3 separate regions of the Homo sapiens genome follow, and regions 1 and 3 are each linked to region 2. The links are contacts of gene promoters, found by promoter capture Hi-C in blood cells and fetal thymus (Javierre and others, 2016). All regions are on one chromosome and are shown on one strand. The core of a region is centred on a gene start or on the middle of the fragment in contact, and the rest is flanking DNA. Distances in the headings are between cores, read along the strand shown. Region 1 overlaps LOC105371847 (a long non-coding RNA gene). Region 2 holds the start of TUBD1 (tubulin delta 1). Region 3 holds the start of LINC01476 (long intergenic non-protein coding RNA 1476).

The links. Contacts are between HindIII fragments. The CHiCAGO score rates a contact against its expected background, and 5 or more counts as called.
Region 1: a fragment that was not itself captured here is called in contact with the fragment with the promoter of TUBD1 in region 2 in 1 of 17 cell types (activated CD4 T cells); the score reaches 6.5 in activated CD4 T cells.
Region 3: a contact is called between a fragment that was not itself captured here and the fragment with the promoter of TUBD1 in region 2, in 1 of 17 cell types (neutrophils). The highest score is 5.0, in neutrophils.

Annotation. Positions count from the first base shown.
Region 1 is chr17:59,546,134-59,550,554 of GRCh38, forward strand. LOC105371847 (a long non-coding RNA gene) reads left to right here. Exons shown (of 3, transcript XR_934889.2): 3 at 4,372-4,401. Among named protein-coding and RNA genes, the nearest start is that of DHX40, 17 kb to the right of the region's middle. The HindIII fragment of the contact is 1,723 bases long and covers 1,836-3,558 here.
Region 2 is chr17:59,890,308-59,894,280 of GRCh38, forward strand. TUBD1 (tubulin delta 1) reads right to left here and starts at 2,636. Exons shown (of 9, transcript NM_016261.4): 1 at 2,390-2,636; 2 at 524-734. The coding sequence starts at 695. It overlaps RPS6KB1 (ribosomal protein S6 kinase B1), which reads left to right and starts at 2,814. Exons shown (of 15, transcript NM_003161.4): 1 at 2,814-3,018. The coding sequence starts at 2,878. RefSeq lists an enhancer at 2,562-2,841 and a silencer at 3,032-3,231. The HindIII fragment of the contact is 20,828 bases long and covers 1-3,973 here.
Region 3 is chr17:59,525,852-59,530,035 of GRCh38, forward strand. LINC01476 (long intergenic non-protein coding RNA 1476) reads right to left here and starts at 1,006. Exons shown (of 3, transcript NR_110813.1): 1 at 629-1,006. It overlaps LOC105371847 (a long non-coding RNA gene), which reads left to right and starts at 3,940. Exons shown (of 3, transcript XR_934889.2): 1 at 3,940-4,184. The HindIII fragment of the contact is 4,739 bases long and covers 1-4,119 here.

The sequences.
Region 1 (4,421 bases), core at 1,447-3,946, 340 kb before region 2:
TTATTTCCCATAAGGAAATGATGATGTCATCACAAGATCTTTTCCTTAATCAGCTTTATTAAGGTATAAATTAATTATAATTACATATAATTAAATATAACTTACATGTAATTAAATTCACCAATTTTCAGTGTATAATTTTTGACAAATGCACACCGTAATCAGCATCACAATCAATATGTAGAATATTTCTCTCACTGTAAAAAGTTCCCTTGTACCTCTTTGAAAGCAATTTTCCCCTTCTACCCTCAGCCCCTGGCAACCACTGATTTGTTTTCTGCAAAAGATACTTTTTACTTTATAAGCAAATATTTATGAGGGCCTTCCATTTTTGTTTGTTTTTTTTGAGACGGAGTCTCACTCTGTCGCCCAGGCTGGAGTGCAGTGGCGCGATCTCTGCTCTCTGCAAGCTCCGCCTCCCGGGTTCACGCCATTGTCCAGCCTCAGCCTCCTGAGCAGCTGGGACTACAGGCGCCCGCCACCACGCCTGGCTAATTTTTTGTATTTTTTAGTAGAGATAGGGTTTCACCGTGCTAGCCAGGATGGTCTCGATCTCCTGACCTCGTGATTCGCCCCCATCGGCCTCCCAAAGTGCTGGCTCACGCCTTTACATGCCCGGTATGAGGGCCTTCTACTTAGAAGTCCTTGAGCTAGATAGATACTTCATAGAATACAAAGATAAGTAAGACTCAGTTTATGTCCTTAAATAGCTAAAAATCTAGTCTAGTCGTATGTAATTTTGAGATTACTCTGTCTACACATAATATGGGACTGAATTTCAATATGAATTATGCCCACTAAAGAAGAATAAGGAAGAAAAAATATTGTAAATGGTTCCTGAACTTTTAGAATAGTAAACAAAAGATTCATGAGTGCCACTAATTAATTATAATTTATTTTAAAAGGCACAAATTTATGATTACAGGATTTCCAGATAATTTTTAAAAAGTAAACTCTTTAAAATTAAGTAACATACATACAGGAAACAAAAGTGCAGAAATCCTAAGTGCACAGCTTGATCTTTTCAGATTATTTATGGCAACCTAGACCAGCACTGTGTGACCAATGCAGTAAAAAGACAACATCCTGAAGTCTTATGGTTTAGACAGAATAATTACATCACTGTAAGAAAGAAAGAGATAAGAGAATAATGTTCTGCAAAGGCTCACAAAGAATTGTGGGGATAAGTAGTGAGAAAATGGATGGCACATTAAAATTCATGAGGAAATGCCGTTTAACTTCTATGAATAACAAAGCGATTATTATGCAGGATCAGGTTTTTCTTTCATCATTACAGAAAGACACAAAATCATTATCGTGATCTGCCATATGTTTTTCCTTTGTTATCAGATGCTGGGACAGGCCTATTAAATGTTCTGTGTTACCCAGGGGAATGGTCAGGGCGGTGAGTAATGATGGTCACGATGCATATGGTTTTCTATAGTCCTAATTGTCAGTGCATTTAGATCCGAGGAAAGGAACAAATTAAAAAGGGCAGAATGGCTGGGTGAGCACTTTCTTGTGATTGCAAAGAACTGGGTCTATTCTTACCCTTTCTGCCCCTTGCTTTATGCTTTACACCTGCCATTTCCAGACTGACAAGGCGCTTTGGTGGCGCCTTGGTCAATGCAATGGGGACTACAATTAATTTAAAAAGGGGTAATGCATGCAAATCGCAGAAAAATATTAACACCAGGAGAAAAAACACAGTGTGGAAAAATAATCCTACAAAAATGTTTATAGTGGGGTCAAACATTTACCCACATTATAATTCCAATACATGCAAAGAAAATACTCCTTTTTAATTTCTATCATGGACCTAATTTTTCCTTGCAAGCTTCCACCTTGCTCTATAATAAGAGGAAAAAAACCAACCAAACGTTAAACTTGTCATTCCAGGCAACAATCTTTTTTTAGTTTAAATAGTTTATTTTGGCCCTGCATGGTGGCTTACTTCTCTATTTAATCCCAGTGCTTTGGGAGACCAAGGAAGGAAAATGGCTTGAGGCCAGGAGTTCAAGACCAGCCTGGGAAACATAGCGAGACCCCGTTTCTAGAAAAAATTTAAAAATTAGCTGGGTGTGGCAGTGCATACCTGTAGTCCCAGCTATTCAGGAGGCCAAAGCAGGAGGATTTCTTGAGTCCAGGAGTTTGAGGCTGTAGTGAGCTATGATTGTGCCACTGCACTCCAGCCTGAGTGACTGAGACCCTGTCTCAAAAAATATAAATAAATAAATAAATAAATAGTCACTTTTGAATAACAAATTTTCTTTTGGTTAAATCCAGAATCTTTCACATTTCTTCCTGCTTCCCTCTGCTTCTGTTCAAAATAATGTCTAGCTGTACAGAGGGATTTGTGACCTAGGGTGGCAAGGAGAGGAAGGGCCTCAGATCTATGTGGGGGTCTCAGGATCAAATTTGTCTCTATACCAGAGTGCATGTTTAGGGGAGCCAGAGATCAACCCCCTTTTGCTCTTAGTGGCCTCTTCAGCTAGATCTAGAAACCAAATTGACACCAGGCAGATTAACAAGGGAAAAGCAAACAAATTGTATTAGTTCTACATGTACATGGGGGTATTCACAAGAGCATGAAGTCTGAATAAGTAGCCAAAGCAAGATGCTTTTGTATTTTTAGACAAAAAATGTTACATTTGAAAAGAAATGACAGAACAAAGAGTATCTGGCCAGGGGCAGTAAATTTTCTAGGGGAGTCACTCGGACATGTATGGAGGATGTAAAACAGGTGGAAGAAAAGGGTTACTTCGTCAAGTACATTTATTCGATCCATTGCAGCCTCCAATTCTTTTTTTTTTTTTTTTTTTGAAATGGAGTCTCACTCTGCACCCCAGGCTGGAGTGCAGTGGTGCGATCTCACTCACTGTAACATCCTCCTCCAAGGTTCAAGTGATTCTCCTGCCTTAGCCTTCCAAGTAGCTGGGACTACAGGCGCCCACCACCACGCCCGGTTAATTTTTGTATTTTAGAGACGGGGTTTCATCATGTTGGCCAGGCTGGTCTTGAACTCCTGACCTCAGGCAATCTGCCCGCCTGTACCTCCCAAAGTGCTGGGATTACAGTCGTGAGCCACCCCGCCTGGCCTGCAGCCTCCAATTCTAAGTCTCTGGTGATAAGGGTTTGCTCGCTCTGGTATGCAGAGGGTGCCCCTCCCAGAGGCATCTGTATCTCTTGCTGCATGAAATTACAATTTCTCAACTGTTTTCAATTTCAAATAATTACTATACCAATCCGGAATATTTTGGGATGGCACATTCTTCACTCCTTCACATATCTCTGACTAAGTTATTTACATAGTAGAAATAAGTTCTCTATTATATCAGAAAAGTTGCAAAAGTAATTTATTTCTATTGTTTTTTATTTAATGTTTTTTATCTACCATGTATTTACTTTTTTTATACTTTCCTACCTTCTATTGAGTTACTGATTTATTTTTCACCCTTACTGACTTGAAAGTTATGTTAAAAAAATTAACCTTTACTTATTATCGATTAAAAAGGAGTTTCTCTGATAAAAAAGTGGGGTTTCAGGTTTATAACGTAAAGCTTTATGTGATATAGAAAAATGTATCAGTAAACAAAGCATGTTGTTTTCTTACAGGCTTACACAATTTTGAAATCAATCTTTTCCTCATTGTAATTACATAGAAGCTTAAAATTTTTTTAAGTTTGTTTTATCCATTTTTCCTTGTATACTTTACCTTTGGTGGCAAGTTCACAGTTACCAAGTATATTTTCTTCACAGTGGTAAAATTAACAAGAACTTACTTTTGCTTTTTTTATTTATAAGAACAATATCACTTCCTTTTACTGAATCAATGTTTACTCTTAAATTTGTAACATGCATGGCTCAACTTGGTCTAAGATACTGTCAGCCTCTTTTGAACAGTATACAATCTGAGAAACTTTATTCCTCCCATTCTTCCTGTTATTATAGTAATTTGGTTTCACCTTTTCAAAAACCCTCTCAACTTAGAGTATTAATTTATTTATTTTTATTTTTGTTTTATTTTTTATTTATTTATTTTTGAGACGGAGTCTCGCTCTTGTTGCTCAGGCTGGAGTGCAGTGGTGTGATCTCAGCTCACTGCAACCTCTACCTCCCGGGCTCAAGCAATTCTCCTGCCTCAGCCTCCCGAGTAGCTGGGATTACAGGTGCACGCCACCATGCCCGGCTAATTTTTGTATTTTTGGTAGGACAGGGTTTCACCTTGTTGGCCAGGCTGGTCTCGGACTCCTGACCTCAAGTGATCTGCCCGCCTCAGCCTCCCAAAGTATAGGGATTACAGATGTGAACCACCGTGCCTGGCCTGAGTATTTATTATTATTGCTTTTATTTTGTTTTATTTTGACACAGGGTCTCTCTCTGTCACCCACACTGGACTGCAGTAGCATAATCACAGCTCA
Region 2 (3,973 bases), core at 1,386-3,885:
GTCTCGGCTCACTGCAACCTCTGCCTCCTGGGTTCAAGTGATTCTCCTGCCTCAGCCTCCCGAGTAGCTGGGATTACAGGCACATGCCACCACGCCCAGCTAATTTTTGTATTTTTAGTAGAGATGGGGTTTCACCATGTTGGTCAGGCTGGTCTTGAACTCCTGACCTTGTGATCCACTCGCCTCGGCCTCTCAAAGTGCTGGGATTACAGGCGTGAGCCACCACGCCCAGCCAGCAGGGTCCTCTTTTGAGAATCTTAGATGAAAGGCAAAGAGATAAGAAGAAGAAAGCCAGTCAATAGATGAGTTTTGTTTGGTTGGTTTTAAATTGGTGAGATCTGAGCATGCAGAAGGGAAAATGCCACTGGAAAAGCAAAGATTATTAACATAGAAATGAAAAGCAAAAACAAAGTAATTCCCTAGTGAGATGGGAAGGAATGGGGTTTAAAAACCATGTGGAAGGCCTGGCTTTGAAGGGGTTGGTTAGATCAGAGTAAAGGAGAGGACTGTGGGCCACACCTACCTCCATTCTCCTCCTCACTGAAGAATCTTTCTTTGCAAGATGCTTGATATGCCTCATTCTCTCTCATAGAGCAGAGTCCCTGGGAACTGTGTGAGTCACTAAGCAAAGCATCAAAAACTTCAAAACCAATCTGATTGCCACACTGACCAAGTTGCACTGTTACAATTGACATGCTGAGCCACAAACTAGGTGTATTACCTCTAAAAACAACCTGTAATCGAAAAAAATACGCTTTGAGAACCACTACATTACTAATAAGAACAAATAAAATGCCATGTATGTTAATTATACATCAATAAAAAGTCTTTTTTCCCCCCTGAGACGGAGTCTTGTTCTGTCACCCAGGCTAGAGTGCAGTGGCATGTTCTCGGCTTAATGCAACCTCCGCCTCCCAGGTTCAAGCGATTCTCCTGCCTCAGCCTCCCGAGTAGCTGGGATTACAGGCACGTGCCACCACGCCTGGCTAATTTTTGTATTCTTAGTAGAGATGGGGTTTCACCATGTTGGCCAGGTTGGTCTTGAACTCTTGACCTCGTGATCCACCTCCACCTACCTCAGCCTCCCAAAGTGCTGGGATTACAGGCTTGAGCCACCACGCCCGGCCCAAAAAGTCATTTTAAAATGCCACATACGTATATAATATTGGAGATAGAACAGCTGTGTTGTCTAAGGAGCTAGTCATTCAAGGAAGTTCTCATACTCTCTACATGGTTTTGGGATTTGTGATTTACTGTACCTGAATCCATTCATACACAGCTCAATAGTTTCCAAAATCTGATTTGTAATCACTTTTTTCCTAAACATATGTTTAAAACAAAACATTCTCCTCAGTTGAGGAGTGATAAAAGAAAAAAAGAGGCTGGGTGCGTGGCTCACACCTGTAATCCCAGCATTTTGGGAGGCTGAGTTGGGAGAATCACGTGAGCCTGGCTGTTCCAGACCTGGTCAACATGGCAAAACCCTGTTTGTACAAAAAATACAACCATTAGCTTGGCGTGGTGGTGTGCGCCTGCAGTCCCAGCTACTCGGGAGGCTGAGGTGGGAGGATCCCCTGAGCCTGGGAGGTCCAGGCTGCAGTGAGCCAAGATCTTGCCACCGCACTCCAGCCTGGGTGACAAAGTGACATCCTCCTGTCTCCAGAAAAAAAAAAAATTAAAATTAAAAAAATAAAAACAAGACAAAACAAATGCTGATTGAAGAAATTAGTAGTACCACCCTTCACACCACATGAACATGTAGAACACAGAAGTGTGCTCAACATTGTACATTCAATTAACATTAATTTTCTCTCTTCTAAATAATAGCTTACGCTTTCTCCACTAGTCTAGCCTGGTAACTTTAGTAAGACCTGTAAGAAAGATTTTGTGTTTAGCTCAGGTAGGACAGCAAGAAAGATGCAGCTTGGAGAAAGAAAACCAGATGAAATATTAACCGGGCGCAATGGCTCATGCCTGTAATCCCAGTACTTTGGGAGGCCGAGGCGGGAGGATCACCTGAGCCCAGGGATTCCAGACCAGCCTGGGCAACACAGCGAGACCCTGTCTCCATTTGAAAAAGAAAGAAAGCAAAAGAAACATTAGAGCAGTTCCTCATTATTTTTACCTAGGAAAAGACAAGTTTTGATAAAGACTTCACATCAGGTCTATGCAGCACTGGAAATGAGCCGTGGGTTGTGAGACAGACTCTGTGCTTAAAATGTCAAACCGGCAAAGTAGGTTTATTATTATCCTCATTTTACAGATAAGGAAACTGAGGCTCTGAAAGGTTATTGACTTTTCCAAGGCCACAGAACTAGTAAAGAGCAAAGCCAAAAGGTCCCCCGTTCCCCACGGGCCCCAGGAGTTCTCCACACGTAACCCGACTCACCGCCAGACGCCGACCAGCGCTTCTGTCCGGTTCAAACTTCGGACCAACCTACTCACCATGCGCATGCTCACTTTCAAAACGAAAAACTTACTGAGAACAAATGCGCATGTTCCATAAACGGAGAGTTTTGTTGTGTATATATTTTTTCCTATTCAGAAAGATTAATTACGCATGTTCAATTTCAATTTACGAACTTCAGATATGGTACGCATGCTCACTGTCCACCGAACGCTCCAGCTGACAATGCGCATGCTCTAGTCCTCCAAGCGCGACTTCGGCTGGTGTTTTGCGCATGTTTCTGCCAGCGCCTGGATCCTGCCGATAGTTCTGCGCATGTCCACTGCCCACTGTTTGGCTTCACGGAACCCTGTACGCATGCTCCTACGCTGAACTTTAGGAGCCAGTCTAAGGCCTAGGCGCAGACGCACTGAGCCTAAGCAGCCGGTGATGGCGGCAGCGGCTGTGGTGGCTGCGGCGGGTCCGGGCCCATGAGGCGACGAAGGAGGCGGGACGGCTTTTACCCAGCCCCGGACTTCCGAGACAGGGAAGCTGAGGACATGGCAGGAGTGTTTGACATAGACCTGGACCAGCCAGAGGACGCGGGCTCTGAGGATGAGCTGGAGGAGGGGGTGAGGCCCGGGGTCCCCGGGGGCCCGAGGTGACAGGGCCGGGGCGGCGGCGCGGGCTCAGGAAGCGCGGTGTGTCCTAGAGCGTGGAGACCCAGGGGGGCTCCTGAGGAGCTGAGGGTCGCGCGGCCTGAGACAGGGGAGCGGGCGGGGCGGTCATGGCCCTAGGTGTGAGGCCTCTGCGGGGCTCGCAGGTGCAGGTCGCACCCTTAGCCCCAGGTCAGCGCAGCCCCGAGCGATCTGAAGAGGGAAAGAGAACGGGCGCGTGGTCGATTCCTCGAGCTGTTGGACTTGAGTGTGGCGGGGAGCGGGTGGCGTGAGCGTGTGTTGGGGAGACGGGGGCTGCTCTTGCTGGGTGTCCCGTAAGTGCAGGCGAAGTGTGGAGGGTTTCCCTTCGAGTCTAGAATTTCAAGTATTGAATCTTCAGACCTCCCACAACCACCTCTCTTCTCGGCCTGTCGCTTCTCTCCTAGGAAGCGCTCAGCTGTTAGAAGTGACAGCTGAAAACTTCTGTCGGGAGTAGCACTGCCGCTGCTGTTACAGCCACCAGGAGTTTTATTTCGGGAGCAAGGGGGCTCTGCTGCATCTTCCAATCTTCCAGGGTTTGTTTGTTTGCTTTTTTTTTTTTACCCCCTTCCGTGTGACTTTTTAAAATAAGCATTTATAAGGACACACGGCACTTGTAACCTTTCCCCAAGTTGAAGATGTCTGTATTTTTTTCAGAATAATTAATGTAATTTTGAGGTGGAAAAAAAAACCAAAAACCAGTTGACAGCCTTGATTTAGCTTGCCAGAAATAAGTTGCCTGAACAGAGACTTGTGAATGGTGGTATGAGGGCTTTCCTTGCTGTAATTTAGGGTGCTAAATTTAGAATTGTATTTCCTAATGCATAGCTTGGTTTCACCCTGCTGGCTTAGTGGTTTGTTAATCTTTATGGAATAACTTTTTTTTTCCCTA
Region 3 (4,184 bases), core at 500-2,999, 370 kb before region 2:
AGACACACAGTAGGCCATCAATAAATAGTTCTGCAAGAAATCAATTTTCAGAGTGTAAGGATCCACTCAGAACAAGAATGGGGAAAGACTCATGCCAACACACACGATTGTGAAACTTCAGAACATCAGAGACAAAGGGATCTTCAAAGCCTCTGGAGAGGAGAAAAAACACATACTCAAGGATCAAGAGTCAGATTGGCTTTGAACTTTAGAATAGCAAAGTTGGAAACATTATATTCCAGTAAGGAGTCATCCTGCACTTTTTATACATTCTTTCAAATGTCCAGTGATACAGAGAAACCTTTTTCATTCACCCCCAGTGACAGAGCAATCTTGAATATCTTGCAAGATTACACCTTATTTGCAAGCACATATGTGAACTAAATTCTTTCAAAATATTGTCATCAAAAATGATTAGCAAAGCAAGTTAACGTCTAAAGTTTTGTGGCTTGATATTAACTCCTTGGTGCTCAATTAAAATAAAACCCATTTATTATTCAGTCTATTTTGTGTTCCTTCATTGCATGCAATTGCAACAAGTAGACATTGGAGGCAAAAAGTAAGATTACATAACACAAAATAGATTCTCAAATGTTCCTCCAACAAAGCAGAAACGAATAATGCTTACCTCTGGTCAGTATTCATGTGGTGACCAGGGTTAGTGGTACTGCCATGAGGCTCCATGTGGCTGGATTGTTGATATTTTCTGTCAACTGTCAGTGACAGAAACTCAACTCAGTCTAGTTTTAGCTCCTGGAAATGGGAAGTCCAAGGGGTGGGTCCTGCATCAGGCATAACTGGATCTAAGAGTGCAAATCATGTCATGGGATCTCTCCTTTTACCCTTCTCTTCACTGCTCTTCTGTTTTCTCTGTGTGGCTTCATTTCCAGGCAGGCCATCCCCATGTGGAAGCAAAGATGGCCAGCAAACAGCTCAGGCTTACGTTTTCCTCATGGCTAGCAATTCAACTCTTGCTTTCCCAGCATTTGCATCCATCTTTGGAAAGAATTTAGATTATGTCACTTGCTCCCTCCTTGACCAATTGTGTGATAGGGAGAATTAGGCACTGTGATTGGGCTGCCTGGTTCATAAACTGATGAGATTTGTTTTAGGGCCAGATGGTTGGTATCTGTGGGGAGAGAAAGGATACAGAAGTTGGGAATCAAGCAGGTTCTGGATTTAAACCCATGTATCTGACAGACCCACCTAAATCCCATAGAGTGGGAGGGTGATAGCTTTCAAAAGAAGAGGATCAGAAAAGACTCCTCCCCATCCTCCTCCCCTCAAGATAACAGATGATCACTTACATGAGATTTTCCCTAGGAGTCAAAATTCTTCACGCTGTAAGATACTAAATAAAATGCAATCGTTTTAAGAAGAGCATACTTGAGAAAATTATCACCTTGAAGTGATGGACGGCTTAATTAGAATTTAAAAAAAGAAAAAAACACAACCCACGGCATTATCCAAATTACTTGAGGTATAACATACAAACTCTTTGGTTTCTAGGAGATATGTAAATGATTCACTTGTATTTTTAATTTGTAAGTAAATGGTGCCAGGTTTCCAGACAGAAACTGAAGCCAAATCTTTATCCATGGAACTTCACAGTGAGAGGCACATCTTAGAGATGAATACAAATCAATAATACAAATTACCCTTATCTAAGTGCCCCAATATTGTACCTCTTGTGCTCTGGTTATCATATTCCCACAGCTCTGGGTGTTTCAAATTAGATGTGGATTCTTCCACTTTTTTTTTTTTTTTGAGACAGGTTCTCACTTTGTTGACCAGGCTGGAGTGCAGTGGCATGATTACAGCCCACTGCACCATTGGCCTCCCAGGCTCAAGCGATCCTCCCACTTCAGCCTCCAGAGCAGCTGGGACTACAAGCATGCGCCACCATGCCTGCCTAATTTTTTTGTATTTTTGGTAGAAACGGGGTTTCGCCGTGTTGCCTAGGCTGATCTCAAACTCCCGGGCTCAAGTGATCCACCCACCTCAGCCTCCCAAAGTGCTGGGATTACAGGTGTGAGCCATCACACCTGGCCTCTTATTTTTTAAACATCTCCTTTATTGTACTTTATAGCTTCAGAATTGAGCTGATCAAAATACATGCTATTCAACTTGCATAGTAAAATCTTTCCTTGTGTCTGTCAGAACCTGCCTAACTCCTTACTTCTATATCCTTCATCTCCCAACAGATACCAACCTTCCAGCCCCTAAAACAAATCTCAGCCCCAGGAGGGCACTCATGTCCGTCATTCAGAGATTTGGCACACAAAGTCATACTCATTGCTAGGCTAGCTCTGACATGCTCCAATAACTGGACTTCCTACTTGTCTCCAAAACCAGGCTTTCTGGTAACCAGTTTTTGTAACTACATCCCTGTCTGTTCCCTGTGCCTGGATCCCTGACTTAGAAACCTACTGAGAACCACACTTTCTTTAGACCTGGAGGCCTGCCTTGTTCTTATCAGTCTCTATTCTTATCATACCTAGGGACAGAAGGTGTGCTCCACAACTTCAGCCTAAATATCTGACAGATAACTCTCCATATTTGGAGATCTATTCAGGGAAACACTTAACATCTACCACCTGAGACATTCCATCTTCTTTGTATTGAGATGACAGGTACTGACTTTTCTTTTCTTCCTTCCTTCCTCTTTCTTTATTTTTTCTTTTCTTTTCTTTTTTTTCTTTTTCTTTTTCTTTTTTTTGGAGACCGTGTCTTGCTCTGTCACCCAGGCTGGAGTTCAGTGGCGCGATCTCAGTTCACTGCAACCTCTGCCTCCCAGGTTCAAGCGATTCTCCTGCCTCAGCCTCCTGAGTAGGTGGGATTACAGGCGTGCAACACCATGCCCAGCTAATTTTTGTATTTTTAGTAGAGATGGGGTTTTGCCATGTTGGCCAGACTGGTCTCGAACTCCTGACCTCAGGGGATCCACCTGCCTCGGCCTCCCAAAGTGGTGGGAATACAGGCGTACAGGCATAAGCCACTGATCCTGGCTTTTTTTTTTTTTTTTGCCAGAGTCGTGCTCTGTTGCCCAGGCCGCAGTGCAGTGACTCAATCTCAGCTCACTGCAGCCTTGACCTACCTGGGTTCAGGTTATCCTCCCACCTCAGCCTCCTGAGTAGCTAGGACCACAGGCTTGCACCACCACACCCGGCTAGTTTTTGTATTTTTTGTAGATACAGGATTTCTCCATGTTGCCCAGGCTGTGGGTACTGACTTTTCTTGGACTGTTACCTAATGTCTCTTGCTGTACCTGCCCAAGGTAGATTTACCCCCCACCCCACCTGTGCCCATCGCTGTCCCTTTCCATGCCTGTTTTACCTTGGTGGAGGAACTCTCTTCCAGTTCTTGCCCTTCTCTACACCTCTGAGGAAAGCAAGATTATTTCCCATCCTGCTGCATTTTCTCAATAACGTGAGTTTCATTTCATGAAAAAAATTACTCTTTAGGCAGAGTATTTTAAGTGGATGCTGGGAGAGTAAAGCCAAGCTGGATTGTGTAATTTTTACACATCTTTTGTGTTGCTCTCATAAGACAATTTATACTTAACTTCCTTTATTATTCCACATTTTGTCATTTTTGTCTCTTTAGCATCTTTTTCCTCCTCCCCACCCCCCCATCACCATTTTTTTTTTCGATACAGAATCTCACTCTCACACAGGCTGGAGTGCAGTGGCATGATCTCAGCTCACTGCAACCTCTGCCTCCCAGGTTGATTCTTGTGCCACAGCCTCTCAAGTAGCTGGGATTACAGGCGCACACCACACGCTTGGCTTAATTTTGTATTTTCAGTAGAGATGGGGTTTCACCATGTTGGCCAGGCTAGTCTTGAACTCCTGGCCTCAAATAATCCACGTGTCTTGGCCTCCCAAAGTGCTGGGATTACAGGCGTGAGCCACAGTGCCCAGCCCTTTTCGTCCCCGTATTTTGATAATTGAGTGCCCCTTACCATGTGGGAACTAACTCTTACCCATTTGATCCATAGATCTTCCCTAGGATTCGATGTGTACATGTTTGGAGAGAAAAGCTGAGGTACTTAGGCTATGATGTAGGCCTGGGCCTACTGGAGCTATCTTCCCCGACCTTTAAAGTCACCCTGAAGAAAGCTTGAAGGCACCAAGTAATCAGGGAATGAAGCCAAGCCAAGTAGAGATGACAAAGAAGAGGCA